2 separate regions of the Homo sapiens genome follow, and region 1 is linked to region 2. The links are contacts of gene promoters, found by promoter capture Hi-C in human tissues and cell types (Jung and others, 2019). All regions are on one chromosome and are shown on one strand. Each heading gives the region's core, a stretch centred on a gene start or on the middle of the fragment in contact. The rest is flanking DNA. Distances are from core to core; before and after follow the strand shown. Region 1 overlaps SARDH (sarcosine dehydrogenase). Region 2 holds the start of DBH (dopamine beta-hydroxylase).

What was found. The method cuts DNA at HindIII sites, captures the fragments that hold promoters and counts their contacts. A contact is called where the count stands out against the background at its distance.
Region 1: a contact is called between a fragment that was not itself captured here and the fragment with the promoter of DBH in region 2, in 2 of the 25 tissues and cell types used here (IMR-90 fibroblasts and dorsolateral prefrontal cortex).

The regions. Positions count from the first base shown.
Region 1 is chr9:133,673,114-133,676,965 of GRCh38, reverse strand. The region is part of intron 17 of SARDH (sarcosine dehydrogenase); the gene reads left to right. Among named protein-coding and RNA genes, the nearest start is that of DBH-AS1, 18 kb to the right of the region's middle. RefSeq lists an enhancer at 1-445. The HindIII fragment of the contact is 3,615 bases long and covers 647-3,852 here.
Region 2 is chr9:133,633,991-133,638,102 of GRCh38, reverse strand. DBH (dopamine beta-hydroxylase) reads right to left here and starts at 1,740. Exons shown (of 12, transcript NM_000787.4): 1 at 1,393-1,740. The coding sequence starts at 1,731. RefSeq lists an enhancer at 1-475. The HindIII fragment of the contact is 16,885 bases long and covers 1-3,898 here.

The DNA.
Region 1 (3,852 bases), core at 1,205-3,704, 38 kb before region 2:
GGTTTCGCTGTGTTGGCCAGGCTGGTCTCAAACTCCTGGCCTCAAGTGATCCGCCCAACTCGGCCTCCCAAAGTGCTGGGATTGCAGGCGTGAGCCACTGCGCCCGGACTCTTTCTGTGATTTCCATGCAGGGATTCACTGGTATTTATCCTGTTTGGTACCCACTGTGCTTTCTGCAGTCTGACTGCTCATGACCGACCATCTTCACTTCTGGAACATTCTCTGCTGTTATCTGTTTAAGTACCGCCTTTCCCCCCGGTCTCTCTGGTATCTCCTTGACCTTCTGTTGGACGCAGACTGCAGCTTCCTGTCCGGCCCAGGGCCATTCCCTCACATTCCCCGAATTCCCATCTCTGTGTCTACACCCCCCGGCCTCCCCTGGCACCTCTGTTCCTGTGGTCCAGGATGTCGAGAAAGTGCCGGTCACTTAGTTCCTAGCCTCAGTTTCCCATGAAGAAAAGGAGTTGGTTTGCTGGCTGGTTTGTTAATTTAATTGTACAGTTCGGTAGTGTTAAGTATGTTCACATTGTTGGGAAACAAACCTCCAGAATGTCTTCATTTTGTGAAACTGAAGCTCTGTCCCCATTGAGGCAATTCCCTTTCCCTCTCCCCAGCCCCTGTGCCCTCCATTCTGCTCTTGATGTCTATGAATTTGGTGACTCCAGGGACCTCATATGAGTGGAATCAGACAGGATTTGTCCTTCTGTGACTGGCTCCCTTCACTTAGCGTGATGTGTTTATAATGTTTTTGTCCGCGTTGTGTTATGCATCCGAAGTTCCTTCCTTTTTAAGGCTGAATAACATTCCTTCATGTGGATAGAACACTTTTTGTCTGTTCATCATCTGTTTTTGGTGTGTGTTTTTTTTTTTAATTTCAGACAGGGTCTTAGTCTGTCACCCAGGCTGGAGTGCAGCGGTGCGATCTCAGCTCACTGCCTCAACCTCCTGGTCTCAAGTGATCCTCCCCCCTTCAGCCTTCCAAGTAGCTGGGACTACAGGCACATGCCACCAAACCCAGCTAATTCTAAAATTTTTTTTGTAGAGACAGGGCCTCCCTATGTTGCCCAGGCTGGTCTCAGACTCCTGGGCTCAAGCAGTCCTCCTGCCTTGGCCTCCCCAAGTACTGGGATTACAGGTGTGAGCCACTATGCCCTGCTTGTTCATCCTCTGCTGATGGACACTTGGGTTGCATCTACCTCTTGGCTATTGTGAATAACCCTGTGAATATGAGTGTGCAAATACCTCTTCGAATCCCTCCTTTCAATTCCTTTGGGTGTATACCCAGAAGTGGGGTTGCTGGATCACATGGAAGTTGTATTTTTAAAGTTTTAAAGAACTGCCACCCTGTTTTCCACAGTGCTTGCACCATTTTCCATTTCCACTAACAATACACAAGGGTTCCAGTTTCTCCACATCCTCACCAACACTCGTTACTTTCTTTTTCTTGTTTTTATAATTGTCATCCTCATGGGCACAAAGTGATAACTCACTGTGACTTGGGTTTGCGTGCCTCTGATGGGTAGTGACGTGGAGCATCTTTTCCTGGGCCTGTTGGCCATTTGCATTTGCTTTTGAGAATTGTCGATTCAAGTCCCTTGCCTATTTTTTTTTTTTTTAAATGGAGTCTCACTCTGTTGCCCAGGCTGGAGTGCAGTGGCACAATCTCGGCTCACTGCAGCCTCCACCTCCTTGATTCAAGTGATTCTCCCACCTCAGCCTCCTGAGTAGCTGGGACTACAGGCATGCACCACCATGCCCAACTAATTTTTTTTTTAAATATTTTTAATGGAAACAGGGTTTCACTATGTTGGCCAGGGTGGTCTCGAGCTCCTGACCTCAGATGGTCCTCCCACCTTGGTCTCCCAAAGTGCTGGGATTACAGGCATGAGCCACCACACCCGGCCCCTTTGCCCATTTTTAATGGTGGTATTTGACTTTTTATTGTTAAGTTGTAGGAGTTCTTTGTTCTGTCTGGGTAGAAGGCCCTTATCATATGTAAGACTTGCAAATGTTCTCTCCCATCCCGTGGGTTGCCTTTTCACTCTTTGTTAGCGTCCTTCGATGCACAAATGTGCTTGTGATCAATGTCCTTCCATCTGACTTTTGCTTTTGTGACCTGTGCTTTTGGTGTCCTCTCCAGGAAACCCTTGCCATTTCCAACTCCCCATGCCTTCTTCCAGAGGTTGTACAGCTACAGATCTTACCCTTGTGTCTTTGTTCCATGTCTAGTTAATTTTTGGACAAGATGTAAGGTACGCGACCAGCTTCTCGCTTCTGCATGTGGCTATCGGATCCTCCCAGCACCACTTGTTGGAGACTCTTTCCCCATGAGTGGCCTCAGCGCCCTTGTAGAGATCATGTGAACACATACGTGACGGTTCATTTGACTTCACTTTCTCCAACTTTGCTGATTTCGTTTAATAGTTTCAGCAGGCTTTTTTGGCATGGAATTTTCAGGATGTGGAAAGGGTTTAAACAAAACCTGACATAAGACCCTTCCTGCTGATCTTCCATAATTCTGTGACTCCATCCACGGCCAGGAGTTCCATCTTGCAATTTGGGGCTTTCAGAGCCCACCTGAGTCAGAGTGGCCAAGGACGACGTGCCGGGACCATGTGCTTGGTGCACACGCACCCAACCCTGGCCGATGGGTCAGAGCAGGGCACTGAGGCCAAGTGGGCCGACCCCCATGGGCGCTGGGAGACGCTGTTCCCACCCAAGCCCGGCTGACTGGGAGCCCGTGTTTGTTCTGGATGTCCTCGCTTGGCCTGTCCCTTTCCTTGTGGGTCCCCACTTGGAAGAACTGGGGACTGATCCCACTCCACTGCTTTGGTGGAGAAAAATGTAAGACGCCTCAACAACTAGTGATTCCGTGAACTTAGAGAGGCCCCTGGATTTCCCCAGCCTCCCTCTCTTTGGCAGGAAGCAGGTGTGGCCCCCGTTTTGCTCCTTCGTTCAGGGACTGTTTCTTGGGCCAGGCTGTGCACGGCGTACAATGGAGACCCAGACCCAGCTGACCCCATCCTCGCTGAGCTGCTGGAGCCAGGAAGGATGGGACTGCTCCCTCCCTTCCACCCGTGAACTCCAACCCTCTCCCTGAGCTGGGTGACGGGTCTTTGTCTGAACAGGGATCCGCAATTGGAGGGCCGTGCATAGGTGCACTTTAAAAATTATTTTTCCTGTTTCAAAATGAGATTGGTTTTGAGCCCCGAGCTCCTCCATAGGCTATCTAAAATTAGAACCCCGTTGACAAGGCAATCTTTGTCAGGGGCCTACGGCTTGCACCAGGGAAGCAGGGAAATGTCAACAGTATATTTTCTGTGTCAATTTTGAGTTTTTTAGGAGGCCTGGGCAAATGGCAACTTAGAGCAAATTTGCGCTATTTCCAAAGCTTTTAGAATCCAGCCCCTCGGCGGCCATGTGATTAAAGTGTCAGGTTTATAAGGAGCTGCCCCTGTGGTTGGGAGAGCGGCCTCTGCCCTCCTTCCCACAGGCGTATCCCAGCGGGAGCTGTACAGGGAGGGCCTTTCCACTCAGAGCAGTGGTGGAATCAGCTCCTCCGCTGTCTGGGATCCTGCAGTCAGCCTAGCTCTCCCCATTCCTTTTGTGAGCTCTCTGGTCCCAGGGCTGAGCACTCAGGCCTTCCCATGGGAGTCAGTGGGTTCAACGGTTTGCCTGAAGGTGAGGACGCAGACTCCAGTTACTGGGTGTGGACGTGCCACGCACCTGAACCAAGTGTGTGAGGAAAATCACGCCTCCTGTGCAAGAAGCCCCCCATGCTGTCTGTGGCCTCCACGCAGCCGAGTGCTAGCCTGTTGTGCAGGCGTGCGGGACACACCCTCCCAAAGACAC
Region 2 (4,112 bases), core at 491-2,990:
TGGCTTCCCTAGCAGCCGGGAAATGCAGGCAGGGGGGACGCTGCCCCAGAGAGGAGCAAATGCTCCTGCACTCAGGGTGCCTCATGGCAGAGGCTTGCGAAGAACCCCAAACTGTCAGCGATGGGGTTCAGCTGCTCCTCCAGACGGCTGACGGCTCAGAATCAGGGCTGTCCCAGGTCTTTCTTGGCTGGAACCTGAGCCACAGAGTGTCTTTGTGCACAGGAATCTGTGCAGCCCTATGGGTCAGAGCAGGGCCCTTCCCAGGCAGCTCCACTCACCCTACCTGGGTGGCCCTAAGCCTCACTAGCGACACAGGCAAGTGCCTCCTGGCCGAGTCTTGGGAATTGGAGGGGGCAAGCTCAGCTCCAGAAACAGCAGCCACCATCTGCCCTCATGAATTCACAACACCCAAAAAGGCAGAGAGGGACTCTCCGCCCCACCAGCCCATGGTGAGACCAAGATGCAGAGCTGGAGCCGGCCGCTCCGCACAGACACAGCTCCCCCGCTCCAGCTCGGCACTCCCAGATAAAGCAGGCACCTCCTGACTTCAGAAATAAAACTTTTTTGTCACTCCTTTGTGTGTTTCTGTGGAGAGAGTTGGGTTTCATCCACAAAGAAGCCCTGGTGGCCAGTCCCATGTGGAAAGGAAGGCTGGAGCAGGACCCATTGTAGGCGGTGGGCTCGCCCACTTCGGGGACCCCCTGCAGCTTGTGGAAGGGCCTAAAGTCCCCTCCAGTTTGAAGGGAAACTTTTCCCCTTTCTCCACCCTGTGAAACAAGAGTGGAGGTAAATTTGGACGGAAAGGAGTCAAGAGCCCATCCTAACAGTTTTGGCTGAGCCCTGTGGGGCTTGTTCAACACCTATGGGTAGGGGCAGGGTGTCTGCACCTGCTCAGTTGGTCCACGGGTACAAGCACAGTAGGTCAGGCTGGATCCCATGGGTGTGCAGGCCTCATGCTGTGCCCAGCCACGCGCCACCACCTGGCCCACATCAGTGGGCATGTGTGCTCTGGGGACGTGGTACTAGGCATTGTTTACAGGGCCGAGGGTCGTGGGGTCTGTGCTCATGCGCGTGTGGGGTGTGGAGCGGCACGAGTGTGTGTGGTGTGTGCGTCCTCTGTGTATAGTTCCATTCCTTGGGATTACTGGGTCCCATGATTTGGGGCGGGCAGTCAAGGACCATGGAAAGCATGTCTTTCCTATTTTGTCCTCAAACTGAGATCCCCATGATGCCCAAGCTCGGGGTGCAGACTTGGCTCAGAGCAGAGTCAACTCAAACACTGACAGGTGACAGAAGAACTTTCTGGGTTAAGGAGGGTGAGTGCAGAAAGACGGCCAGATGGGGTGCCGGGTCAGGAAGGGTTTGGAGAGCTGGCAGGGAGGAGAGACTCACCGCAAAATAGGCAGTGTCCCCATCGGTCCAGAGCACCACGAGATCTGCGTTCTCAAGCTCGCCACGGTCGGACATCCCAAACAGGACGCCAGCCTTGAGCCTCCGCACCAGGAGCTGGAAATGGATGGCCTCCTGGGTGTAGCTGACATTCCATGAGAGCTCCAGGGACCCCTCCGGGTCCAGGGGGATGTGATAGGGGAGGGGGCTCTCACGGGGAGCCGAGCCCTGCAGTGCGGCCACCAGGATGACCAGGAAGATGGCCACTGCTGTGCTGTACATGAAGGCTGCCTCCCGCATGCTGGGGCCGGGCAGGCTGGCCCAGCGACTGAGGGCGGGCATGGCTGGGGTGAGCTCTCTGGTCCCACCTGGCCATTTATGCCCTGGTCCTGAATGGGGTGGGTCCAGGCAGCACGGGTAATCACATTTGTCTAGCGGGGAATCCAATTTTCCCTCCCACAAGCTTGCGCCCCAGGCCAAGCACTCAGCCTGCTGCCCTCCTCTAATTGGCACTAATGACACATGGACGTCATCAGTGGGAGTTGAAGTAGACAGGCGGATGCTGTCCCTTCTGAGATGGCTCTGAAGAGCTGTCCCAAAAGCAGATGCACCCTGCAGCCAAGAGGCCTTTCAGACACCCTCTGGCCAGGCACCAGCTGACTGCCTCACAGGCTGTCTGGCCCAGTCCCCAGTGGGATGGGGTCTGCGTCGCCTCTACCCACGGATGAGCAGACTGAGGTCCGAGGAGCTGCTCCAGGCTGACCAGTGAAGGATAGGCCCGTAGCCACTGCAGGCCTGGCCTAGCGAGCAGAGCCGTTTGTACAATACTAGCAGGTGGGCCCATTTCAAACCAAAAATAAGACAATCTCCAAATAGTCCCTGTGTTTAGACACTCTCTCCACGGCCTGCTCTTCCCACTTTTGTCTCCTCTCAATTTTTCCACAGCCTCCAGCTGGTACCACTGCTGCTCCAGAAGGCGCGAGAGCATCATAGGGAGTGGGGGACATGGGCGTGGGGTGCATTGCTGGGGACAGACGGAGCTGGAGCTGCACAGGGGATAGGCAGGCTGCAGGGTGCACTGCTGGGGGTGACAGCCTTTAAGGAAAAGAGGGTGAGTGACAGGCCTGCTCCCCTGTCTCTGAAGCTCCCAAACCCACAGCTTCCTCTTGCCCAGAGCAGATCTGGCCTGAATTTGAAGCCTCTCAGGGCAGCTGGCCGCAGCCCTGCTTCTCCCACACCTGCCACAGGACCTTTGCCATCATCCACCCGTGGGCCCGAGGGTCAGTCTCACCACGGCACCTCTCCCTCCTGTCCTCTCCCACAAGTAGACTGAGGGCAGCTGCCTTCAGGACATTCTGCTTGATCCCTCCAGCTCCACCCCCCAGGCTGGGTTGACAGATCTCTCCAGCTGGACTAGAAGCTGTCCCTCCTCCCCAGCCTCCTCCCTCCCTTCCTTCCTTTTCCCTCCTGTTTCTCGTCTCTCTGGAGAAACCCAGAATCTAGCCTTAGGGGCACATTCATGTCATAGGCTGACAGCAACATTTAGGTCCTTAAATACCCATGACAGCAGGTCTGGAGGCTGCTTCAGCTCTGAGCTCTACGCTGTAGAAAGGAATGACTGTGTCTTTGCACGAACGTGAAATTTGGAGAAAGTGCCAGCCTTCCCCTGGCCCTCGCAGGCAGTGCTCTCTGCCCCACAGTGGCCAGGCCATCCTGCAAAGCCAAGCTCAGGCCATGAGCCCCTCCCCACTGATTGCACCCAGAGGGGCACCGTTCGCCCCCACCCACAGCCCAGGCAGGTGAGGTCCAAGTGCATAATCACCTGTGCAATAGAGTGTGGCATTGGTGTGAAATTGTCTCCCAGGCCAGGGGAAAGACACTCTTGGGAGTTCTCTGGTGAGCCTTGGGAAGGGTCTCAGCCTCCGAAGGCCTGGCTTTCCCATCAGGACATGCCACCTCCGTCGCCTGAGAGCACCTCACCTTCATGCCTCAGATTAGTTCCAAAACCTCCTCACCTGTGCCTTGTAAGCAGGTGTCTGCTGCATCCCGGACATTCACTCTCGGGACTGGGGAGCGGCCACAGCGAGCCGGTGATACGAAGAGCCTCCGGGGTGGGCAGGCACTGGTGTTCCCAGCACGGGATAACAAAAGCCAGCAGAGGCAGAGGTGAGGGTCACGGGCTCCACAGCACACCCAGCTCAGGGGTGAGCCCTCCCAGCAGCCTGGTGGCCACCCAGGTGGCTCCAGCTAGACAACAGGCTAAACGAGCACCAGCTGGGGCCCGCGTTGTGGGAAGGGGGGCACCTCTCTCCCCTCTGGGGTATTGAGGCCCCAGGCACCCCTCCTGCTCCTCCGGGGTCAGAGCTCTGGGGTCATATCCTGCTCCGCCCTCCTGAATGCGCAGCTGGCGTCCTCAGAGAAGCGCTTTCCAACCCAGCGCCTCCTCCCCATCTACAGACACAGGAAGTTGGATGACAAGGACAATTGATCCCTCCAGCTTCCTTCAACCCAGCGGTTCTGTGGAGCGAGAGGCAGTGAAGAGCCCCTGATGCTACCAGCCCTTGGACGGCTCAACACACCTCCAGGCCTCGCTCCTCTCCCGGATACGCCAAAGACCAACAGCTGCTGGGAGCTCTAAGGAGGGACGGCAGGTGCGGTCTCGTGCTCAGCAGTGTTATGCACACATGTTTATTTTTAACAGGAATCAAAGACATTTTCTTTAT